Linked DNA regions of Homo sapiens: region 2 is linked to region 1. The links are contacts of gene promoters, found by promoter capture Hi-C in human tissues and cell types (Jung and others, 2019). All regions are on one chromosome and are shown on one strand. The core of a region is centred on a gene start or on the middle of the fragment in contact, and the rest is flanking DNA. Distances in the headings are between cores, read along the strand shown.

Region 1 (5,215 bases), core at 1,512-4,011:
AGGAAATGCTTTCTTCCCTCTTCCAGTTTTAGACACAGAAGAAATTAAAGTCCATAACTTCATTAATTTAATATATAATATCAAGTTGATGCAAATTTGTACATTGGTTAGGGGGCTGAGAATAATATATCTTGCTCATTATCTTGTACTATGGTTAATACATAATTTAGTAAATTCTCTATTGCATTATATATGACTTTAGATTGTTGTATCTTCTTTTGATTTTAAGTGTTGATTATTTTAATACTTCAGGAAATCTTCAAGAGGTTAGACCTCATTTGCTTTAGCAAATTGAACTCAATTATGTGGGGCTTCAAGTATCTTTAAATGTAATACTAGAAGGGAAGTTTGCATAATTTAGACCATTTTCGAGCGTATTTTACTTCTAAAAAGTGCACTAAAAATGTGGCAATGATAAGTTATTGGTTTTTCAAAGTAAATGAATATTACAGATCCGAGTTAGCTGTGATCATGGAATTTAAATTTCACTTTGGTGGGGGGCAGCCACTTTTTTATATGCTTTATAACTTTAAAAAGTAACATATCCAGATGACTGCTTGATTGCAACTCATGAGAGACTCTGAGCCAGAACCACCTACCTAAGACACTTTCAGATTCGAATCCTGAGAAACTGTGTGAGATAATAAATGTTTGCTGCTTTAAAAAAAAAAACCTCATGCCTGTAATCCCAGCACTTTGGGAGGCCAAGGCAGGAGGATCGCTTGAGCCCAGGAGTTTGAGACCAGCCTAAGTAACACAGGGAGATCCTGTCTCTACAAAAAACAAACAAAAATTTAGCCGGGCATGGTGGCTCACACCTGTGGTTCCAGCTACTAGGGAGACTGAGGGGGTGGATCGGAGGTTGAGGCTGCTGTGATCTGTGATCGCTCCACTGCACTCCAGGCTGGGTGACAGAGCAAGACCCCATCTCTTGAAATAAATAAATAAATAAATAAATACAAATCTATGACAAGGGAAAGTGTTTAGGATCATTATTGATCTAGTAAGGACTGTGTTGATCAGTAAAATAAAAAGTCTTTGAGAATTATGGAAAATATAGCTATAGCTTACTTCTTTCCACACTTAAAAAAAAATCCTATAGGAAATATTCTTTTACAAATATATAGCAAACAGTGTTTTCAATTTGAGGGTATGCTACTCAAAATTACTCTAGTCATGTATTCATTTTTTGTTCTTATTGAGGTTTTTGAGAGACACTCAAAATGTAGCTGGAGCTATTTCTGTTTGATTAGTAATATTGCAATATACCTTCAATATTTATGGATTTTTGAAATTAAATACATTTTATTTAGTTTTATTTCCTAGTCTTTTTTTTTTTTGTCATCCAGCATATTGTAAACAATGTGTGGTAGTGGAAGTTTTTTCCCCAGGCTTCAGTGGATAGAACCTTTTATGCCGAAAGTACTGAAAGCTTTCAAGTTAAATATCGTACATATTTGGTGAAAGAGCCTTTAAGGTCATATGAAAAAATTCAGTTTTTTAGAACTAAATTTTGAGCATAAGGACAACACATATTACTACTCAAAACTGCCTCATTAAAGTCTGGTGATCCTTGATTATAGGTTTATAATACAGATTGAAATTATATTATAACATAATATGAATGTCAATTTTGCTAGATAGTTTCTTCTTTTCAGTTGGTTATTTTTAAATAGCCTTCTTAGTATATTTTCATTAATGTCATGTGACTTTATTCTTGATGCTTAAGTGAACATATAGTACTTACAAACTTTTGTGAACATTTTGGATTTTTTTTCCTGTGATTTTTTTTTTAACCTTTGTCTCTATAATCCTTGGTGTTTTGGAGTGTTTATAGCTGTTTTTTATTGTATATAGGAATTTGCTTTCACTTCAGTTAGGGTAAAGCTTCCCAATGTGAAAAACTTAAGTGTCCTTTGAAAAGAATCTGGGATGTAATAGTGCCTCCTAAAGAGTGGAAGTTACTAAGTAGCTTCTTAGCTTCCTTTGGTAAGCTATCGAGATTTAACCATGTTTTCAGAATCATTATTTTTTTAAACAGAGAATTAACATCTTTATTGAAAACAAGAATCAGCATTTTAAAATGTTTGAATTAGAAAACATATTTGCCATTATATATGTTTTTACCAAAATGGTTTTATAATTAATATTTTTATATTTGTCTTTTTCTTTCTGCAGTTTCAAAGTAGTTGCCTTTAAAAAAATGGAGTTGCAGTTTCCATCATCTTGTTCTAGCCATATGATCATTGAAAGACTATATTTTGTTCATATTTTTCCAACATTGAATTTTCCACGTTATATATTATAGATGAAGTTTGTAAAGTCTTTTTAAATTTCTTGATCCTCCAAGTGCTTCAGTTTCAAAAATATCTAAAAGTTTTATCACCATTTTTCAGCCGGGTGTGGTGGCTCACACGTGTAATCCTAGCACTTTGGGAGGCCAAGGTAGGTAATTGAATCACTTGAGGTCAGGAGTTGGAGACAAGTCTGGCCAACGTGGCGAAACCGCATCCCAACTAAAAATAGAAAAATTAGCAGGATGTGGTGGCATGCACCTGTAATCTCAGCTACTTGGGAGGCTGAGGCAGGAGAATTGCTTGAACCCGGAGGCGGTGGTTGCAGTGAGCTAAGATTGTGCCACTGCACTCCAGCCTGGGTGACAGAGTGAAACTCTGTATCAAAAACAAAAACAAAAAACATTTTTCAATGACCAATAAGGCGAAGATGAGGGGAGGAAAATAGGAAAAAATGAATAACCAAAGAAAAAAATGTGAGCCTTGCCTCTCATGGAAATTTGATTTAAGAAAAATCATCTGGAGGCTAAATTATATGGTAGATAATAAACTAGATTAGGACTTCATTTCTGCTGGACTTCCCTAGCACTTAAAAAATTCAACATATCCAAGATAATAGTCAGTTCTCTTTTTAACTTCCTTAATTCTATAAATAAAGGCATTATCATTTAGTCATACAGGATCAAAACACACATTCTCTCTCTCTCTTTTCTTTTTTCTTTTTTCTTTTTGCTCCCTATTTCTCCTGGATCTCACCCACACAAAACCTCTGCTTTCTTTCTTTTTTTGGAGACAGGGTCTTGCTCTGTTGCCCAGGCTGGAGTGCCATGATCGTAGCTCACTGCAGCCTTGACCTCCTGGGATCAGGCAGTCCTCCCCCCTTAGCCTCCTGGGTAGCTGGGACTACGGGCATGTGCCACCACACTTGGCTAATTTTACAATTTTTTGTATAGGTGGGGTCCCACTATGTTGCCCAGGCTGGTCTTGAACTCCTGAATTCAAGCAATCCTCCCACCTCAGCCTCCCAAAGTGCAGGAATTATAGGCATGAGGCACAATGCCTAGCCCTCTGCATTTTATTTCCATTGCTACCACCTTACTTTGGTCTCTGTGAAACTTTAAACTACTGTAGTCATCCCCATCTAAGGGGCATGCATTCCAAGACCCCCAGTGGATGCCTGAAACCTCAGATAGTACCTTACCCTATAGATAATTATGCTTTTCCTATACATACATGGCTGTGATAAAGTTTATAAATTAAGCATAGTAAGGGAATAATAACAATAGCTAATAAAATAGAACAGTTATCGTAATATGCCAGCATCACTACTCTTGTGTTTTAGGGCCATTATTAAGTAAAATAAGAGTTAGTTACTTGAACACAAGCACTGCTATACTGAGACAGTGATCTAACAACCAAGATGGCTACTAAGTGACAAACAGCACAGACGGTGCAGATACATGCTGGACAAAGGGATGGTTCACGTCCTAGGTGCAACAGAGCTGAACAGCTTGAGATTTCATCACCATACTCAAAACAATATACAATTTAAAACGTATGAATTGTTTATTTCTGGAATTCTCCATTTAATATTTTTGGACTGTGGTTGACCACGGGTAACTGAAACTGCAGAAAGTGAAACCATGGATAAGGGGGATTACTGTGTAACAGTAGCCTCATTCCTTGATTAAATACTTGCTAAGCATCTACCATGTTACTGTGCTAGGGGTTGGAGATTTAACAGCCAACAAGACAAATAATCTACTCACTTTTGGAGCTTACAAATAGTGGAAGCAGAGATTTGCAGGAGAAGGAATTACAAGTGTTCCAGGTATTATGAAGGGAAGATGCAGACATGAGCATTTAACAGACCTAACAGTCAAGAGGTGGGTTCAGGGAAGAAGTTTCTGTTTCATCAGCCACAGTTCATTCTACATACTTCACCAGAGTCAGAGGCTAGTGGATATATTATCCCTATAATTAGTTAAATAATTAAATAAATAATGACAAAATAAATGTTTTTAAATTTAAAAGACTATTTGAAATTAAATGTCCACACAACCCATGAAACAGCTTTAGACAAGTTCTTTCAGAACACAAGAACACTTGAAAGAGTTTTGTCCTAAAGAGTCCCCACTCTCCCTCCAATATGGGTTTCTACTTTGGATTCTCCCAAGCCTCAATTACTTGAATACTGACAGAGTTCCTATGTTATGGTTTTACACTCTCTGTTTGAACCATGAGAACTTAGGACTGTGTTACCAGAAGCCAGAGTACAAGCCATGGTTACAAGAAAGAGGTGTTCCAAGTAGATGGCTATAGTGTCTCTGTAGCTAGGGTCCAGCAGCTTATCGGTGATTCATTAAATGTACAAGTGATTAGGATATAATATATTAGGATATATTATATTATACTGTGGCTGGCCAGTTTTGCTGTTTTTGAAAAAGGAAGTTAAGGCCAGGCGTGGTGGCTCATGCCTATAATCCTAGCACTTTGGGAGGCTGAGGCGGGCAGATCACGAGGTCATGAGTTTGAGACTAGCCTGGCCAATATGGTGAAACCCTGTCTCTACTAAAAAATATAAAAATTAGCCGGGTATGGTGGCACGCACCTGTAGTCCCAGCTACTTGGGAGGCTGAGGCAGGAGAATCGCTTGAATCCGGGAGGTGGAGGTTGCAGTGAGTCGAGACAGCACCATTGCACTCCAGCCTGGGTGACAGAGCAAAACTCCATCTCAAAAAAAAAAAAAGGAAGTTAATATACTTAAAATGTTATTGCAGTGAAGATACAGAAAAGGTTCTGTATTGATTTTTCTTTGTGTTAGTGGGAAGATCATAGACATAATGCTTTGCTCGGTTGATTTGGTTATAGTAGATTTTACCCGAGGAATGATTTTGTTTACCCAAGGAATGTGTAGTGTT
Region 2 (5,336 bases), core at 2,796-5,295, 710 kb after region 1:
CGCAAATGAAGCAAAAGAAAAATGAAAATTAACTCTAAGGTATAAAATTGCCTAAGAAGGGAAATTTAAGGGTAGTACATTAATTATTTTAATTGAAATGGGATACTGTAAATACTATATTAAATTAAATGTAATTTTATTTTTTACATGATTTTTAAAAAGTGTAGTAAAAAACACATAACAAATCAACCCTCCTAACCATTCTAAAGTGCAAAGTGCTAACTAGGTGCACGTCTTTGCCCTCATCCTTCACTGGGTCTTCAAGTGAAATTCCTGAATTAGAGGAGTTACACATTTTTATTAAAGCCTAATCTTATGTAAATATTTGTTTACATAAGATCTTAGCTGACTCTATACATTTCCTTCTGAGTGCTGATTTTCTGTCCAGAAGCCTAGAGCTTTTGATTTAGTTGTTCTTGGGTGAGGTCTGGACATCTGTATGTTCAAAATCTTCACAAATGTTTAGGAACCATTTCTCTAAACATTTAATTAACATAAAGTACTCGTGGAAGATGTTTGCTTGGATAGTCTGTATAGAAGATATTTGGAATATAGATCATTTTAACCTAATATACTTCAACCTTTTTTTTTTTCCCTAGGAACGAATGATCACACACTTTGAAAGGTCCAAAATGGAGTAAGGAATGGGAAGATTTGCAGTTAAAGATGGCTACCATCAGGGAAGAGATCAGCATCTGTGTCAGTCTTCTGTACGGCTCCATGGGATTAAAGGAAGCAATGACATCCTGATCTGTTCCTTGATCTTTGGGCATTGGAGTTGGCGAGAGGTGTCAGAACAAAGAGAACATCTTACTGAAAACAAGTTCATAAGATGAGAAAAATCTACGAGCTTCTTATTTACAACACTGCTGCCCCCTTTCCTCCCAGACTCTGACATGGATGTTCATGCAACTTAAGTGTGTTGTTCCTGAACTTTCTGTAATGTTTCATTTTTTAAATCTGACAAACTAAAAAGTTTAACGTCTTCTAAAAGATTGTCATCAACACCATAATATGTAATCTCCAGGAGCAACTGCCTGTAATTTTTATTTATTTAGGGAGTTACATAGGTGATGGGGGAAATTGTTAACTACCTTTCATTTTCCTGGGAAGTCAAGGTTACATCTTGCAGAGGTTGTTTTGAGAAAAAAGGGCCCTTCTGAGTTAAGGAGCCATAGTTCTATCAATGATCAAAAGAAAAAAAAAAAAAGAGAAACTGTTACAGTATGATTCAGATCATTTAAAAAAGCAAAATCAAGTGCAATTTTGTTTACAAATGGTGTATATTAAAGATTTTTCTATTTCAGATGTACTTTAAAGAGAAATATTAGCTTAACTCTTTTGACATCTGCTATTGTGACACATCCCATTGCTGGCAATGTGGTGCACACTCCGAAACTTTTAACTACTGTTTTGTAAGCCTCCAAGGGTGGCATTGCAGGGTCCTTAGGCAATGTTTTGTTTGCCTTTATGCAGAGAGGTGCTCCAAGTGCTGTGATTGAGCACCGTGCTAGAGGAACTGTAATGCTTCAGAAGTTGTAGCTTATACAAAGGAAACAGGTCCTGCTGGCTTAATTTAAACAGTTATTGCATGAAGTAGCGTGGAGGCCCTGGACTGCTGCTCGTTCTTTAGGATGGACTGTTCTGGTATCTGGTATTGGTTTAGAGACTGTTAATAAGGGACATCACAAGGTGATGGGATTCATTTGAAGCACTCTATTTCTGTTTTAATGGTTTTATCCAATTTTGCCTTCCCAAGATTTTTGTTCTACATAAAAAGTTCATGCCACTTTTTAATATAAAAAAATTTAACAAAATTAATGTATTTTTCTCATTTTTTTCAAACTTTTTCTAAAGACTCTTTCTGTCAAACTCATGAAAAATTTCTTTCTATGGCTTTTATTCTAGATTGTCTTATTTTCTGTTAAAACCAATGACCACATGACCACAATCTTCACTAACTCATACTGCAGTGAAAGTGTTAACCCTTAGGTAGTTTCTCTACAACTCTTTGCTATGGTGATTTTTAAAAAAGTTTCCTAGGAAGTATCTCTGAGGAACAGCAATCTGAAGAACTGACTATATTCTCATGCTAAGTCATTAGCCAAAAGCTGGTGGTATTGTTGCATGCTGCTATTGCATATTAAAACGTAGCAGATGAATAATAGTTGTAATGCAGCAGGATAGTTGGTCAAATTATTTTTTTAGGCTGCTTTGATGTTGACTTGAGACTAGGAAAAAAAAAAGCCCATTGTGTTAAGCGGGAGTGTATAGTTCAAGTTCTATAGCCTGGGCCCTGATAATTCTACTTACAGCTTTCTGTATTACTGGGAATAGATATAGTGTGTCATTTCTTAGGTTCAGAAGAAATTGATAGCTTTGCAGTAATCTGTAAAACAATATAAACCTTAGGGTTTTGGGCCTGAACGAAAAGGTACTAGACCTTCCAGCACAACAGCTGGTAATTCTAAATTTTTAAGAAGGTGATCAGCTTCTATGGTGAAAATCAGCTATAACACAGGATTTGTGTAGCAATTTTCATGTTTTTGACTACTTGAAAGTACTTTTCACTTGATTATCAGAACAGCATTTGGTAAAGATGGGACAAGTATTCCTAATTTACATATGAAGAAACTGATATTGTGTAAAAATAAAATGACCAGGACCAGTTTTTTTGACTTCATATCACAGACTTACCCTTTTTCTTTTACATTTTTGCTTTAAACCCAAATGCTTAATTTTTTGACCTACGATGTTTTCCTAGGGGGAAATGACCAGATATAGATCATTCTTGCAGCCCAAACTTTGTTGTTTTTTAAGTCTTCAAGGGGAATACTAAGGTAACCGCAGACAGTACAGGTCCCAGGTCCTATAGGAGGAAAAGCCATGACACCTTCCTAAAGGAATATTAGGATGTAAGACACAGCTTTGGAAAGTTGAATTGGTAGGAATGTGGTCATCAAATTAAAAGGAGGCTTATTTCACTGACTTCCAAGAGTTAGTGAATCATCTCTTGCCTAAACTCTTGCTACTCAAAATGTGATCCAGGGACCAGCAACATCTGGGAGATTTTTGGTGCTCAACTGAGGGTCTTACTCTGGTCCTACTGAATCAAAAGAGGCATTTTAACAATGTCTCTAGGTGATTTGTATGCACGTTAAATTTGAAAAGCATTGGCCTCAAATGGTGGTTCTCAGGGTAATTTTGCCTCCCAGAGGACATACGGAAAAGAGACATTTTTATACCTCTGTGGGGAAGATAACTGGCATTTGGTGGGTGGAAGTTAGGGATGCTGTTAAACATCTTACATTGTACAGAACATGCCCCCTCCCCCAACAAGAAATTATCCTGTCCTAAATGCCGGTAGTGCTATCGCTGAACAACCCTAACCTAAAATGGTGGTTCTCAAGCTTTTAAGTGCATGGACTCACCTTGGGGTTTATTAAAACATAGGTTGCTGTTCCCTTCGAGTTTCAGATTCAGTAGAACTGGAATGGGCCTGAAACTTTGCATTTCTAACAAGTTCACAGGTGCTGCTGCTACTGCTGTTGTTGCTGGTCTAGAACCACTTTCAGAACCACTGGCCTAGAACAACCATGAAAGCATTAAGGTAAGGTGCTTGTACTAATTGGGATATAATGGTAATACTAAAGCTACCACTTACTGAGAGCTTAGTGGGTGTCAGGTGTTGCTAAGCGCTCACGACACTAGGTCACAGGTATTTACAAAAATTTTGCAGATTAGGAAAGTATGGCATCGAAATATTAAATTTTCTAAATCACAGCTAATTTCCTAATTGGTAGATCTCCGTCTGAGGTCGACGCCAAAGGCCGAGTTTTTAACCATCACGCCCACTGCCTAAAGCAGTTCTAAGATTAAGAGTTTGTTCCTTCTATGGTAAGCCCATGGCTACTCGGGATGGAGTAGCTATGGGTCCAGAGTGACGATGGCAACTCAGCAACAAAACAATTCATTTAGAGTGCACCGGGAGGAAGGGGCGGGACTTCGGCTGCGGAAGAGGCGGGCCTAACTAGCAGGAAGTCCGGGGTTGACGATGGCTGTGTTGTTGAAGGGCCTGTAGCCGGGGGGTTCCTGGCCGGATCCCGGTCTACCCTTAGCCCAGACTCGTTCCGGACCCCAGCCCGGCCCGGAACACTCTGGGCGAGACGGCGGTGGCAACTCTCCCCTTGCCGCCATGCACGACGCTTTCGAGCCAGTGCCGATCCTAGAAAAGCTGCCTCTGCAAATCGACTGTCTGGCTGCCTGGGGTGAGCCGAGGGGCCGCGGGGCCGAGGCGGAGTCAGCACAGGAGCGGTCCGGATCTTTTCTGAGGCCGGGGAAGTGGACAGGCGTCCATCCGTGTGGGCTTCGGTTGGATGCTACACGAGAGGGGCTTAGGATGAGAGAAGGCAGAGAGATGACCACCGGCTATAGACATCGATGTCTGTGGGGCTACTTGGGTGATCCCAGTGATCCAGTCATTTAGGGGAGTTCCCCTTGCTTTTGCTCTCTGTGCAGAGTGGGAGGATGAGCTTTCCTTTTTAGTTGTGCTCAGCTTTGGCCCATTTTGATTCCCACGAAGACTTCATTTTAGAGGGTCAAAGCAGTAAGAAGTTCTCAGCCTGCCAGGGGCTTGAAGTTGTCCAGATGTTTGTGTTGTTTTCTAGATGAAAGTCAACCCTGGTTTTGGGGGCATTGAACAAGTTAACACCATATGCTTTTTTTTCCCCTTAGTGATCATTCGTTCATTTCTCATTCCTGTAGGGAACTCATGTAGTTAGCTAACCTTTGAATCTAGCCAAGCGGTTGATTACCTTATATCCAAAGTGTCCAAGTTACCTAACTGTAGGCGGAAGAGTTTCCAGACTGTCTTGAAACCTAACCCATAAAAACTAGCATAGTCCTTTTGGGATTGACTAGTGCAGAAGGCCGGGACAGACATCTCTTGTGTGCTCTGAAATACAAATGAAGGTTTCAGGGATAACGGTGAACATTGTGCTCTTATCCGTGAGTGACTGGTTTGATACCAGCCGCCAAAGACCAAGGAAATCATTTCTAACTTTCCTCTTAATGTTTAGGTCCTAGAAATCAAGGACCATAAAAAGATGATTCAGATCCCTTAATCAGATCTTATACTGAGCTAGATAGGTAACCATGATGGGCCTTATGGAATCTTGGTGGTGTCTGATACCATGTGCGTCAGCTGTTCACAGTGTCACCGAGTCATCCTTGCAGAGTTCTTGATGACTTCTTCTGTAGGGTTCTTTCACGAAGAATTTTCATGTTAATGTGCACCCTTCCTCCTTTAGCAGCTCTGGGTCTCTTTAAAATCATAC

The links. Contacts are between HindIII fragments. The study calls those that stand out against the background at their distance.
Region 2: a contact is called between the fragment with the promoter of VPS39 here and a fragment that was not itself captured in region 1, in 1 of the 25 tissues and cell types used here (dorsolateral prefrontal cortex).

What each region holds. Positions count from the first base shown.
Region 1 is chr15:42,913,810-42,919,024 of GRCh38, reverse strand. All of the region lies in intron 1 of TTBK2 (tau tubulin kinase 2), which reads left to right. Among named protein-coding and RNA genes, the nearest start is that of TTBK2, 4.4 kb to the left of the region's middle. The HindIII fragment of the contact is 6,776 bases long and covers 1-5,215 here.
Region 2 is chr15:42,207,013-42,212,348 of GRCh38, reverse strand. VPS39 (VPS39 subunit of HOPS complex) reads left to right here and starts at 4,045. Exons shown (of 25, transcript NM_015289.5): 1 at 4,045-4,268. The coding sequence starts at 4,196. VPS39-DT (VPS39 divergent transcript) reads right to left here and starts at 3,948. Exons shown (of 3, transcript XR_932181.3): 1 at 3,665-3,948; 2 at 3,432-3,585. TMEM87A (transmembrane protein 87A) reads left to right here. Exons shown (of 20, transcript NM_015497.5): 20 at 600-1,902. The coding sequence ends at 641. The HindIII fragment of the contact is 8,677 bases long and covers 449-5,336 here.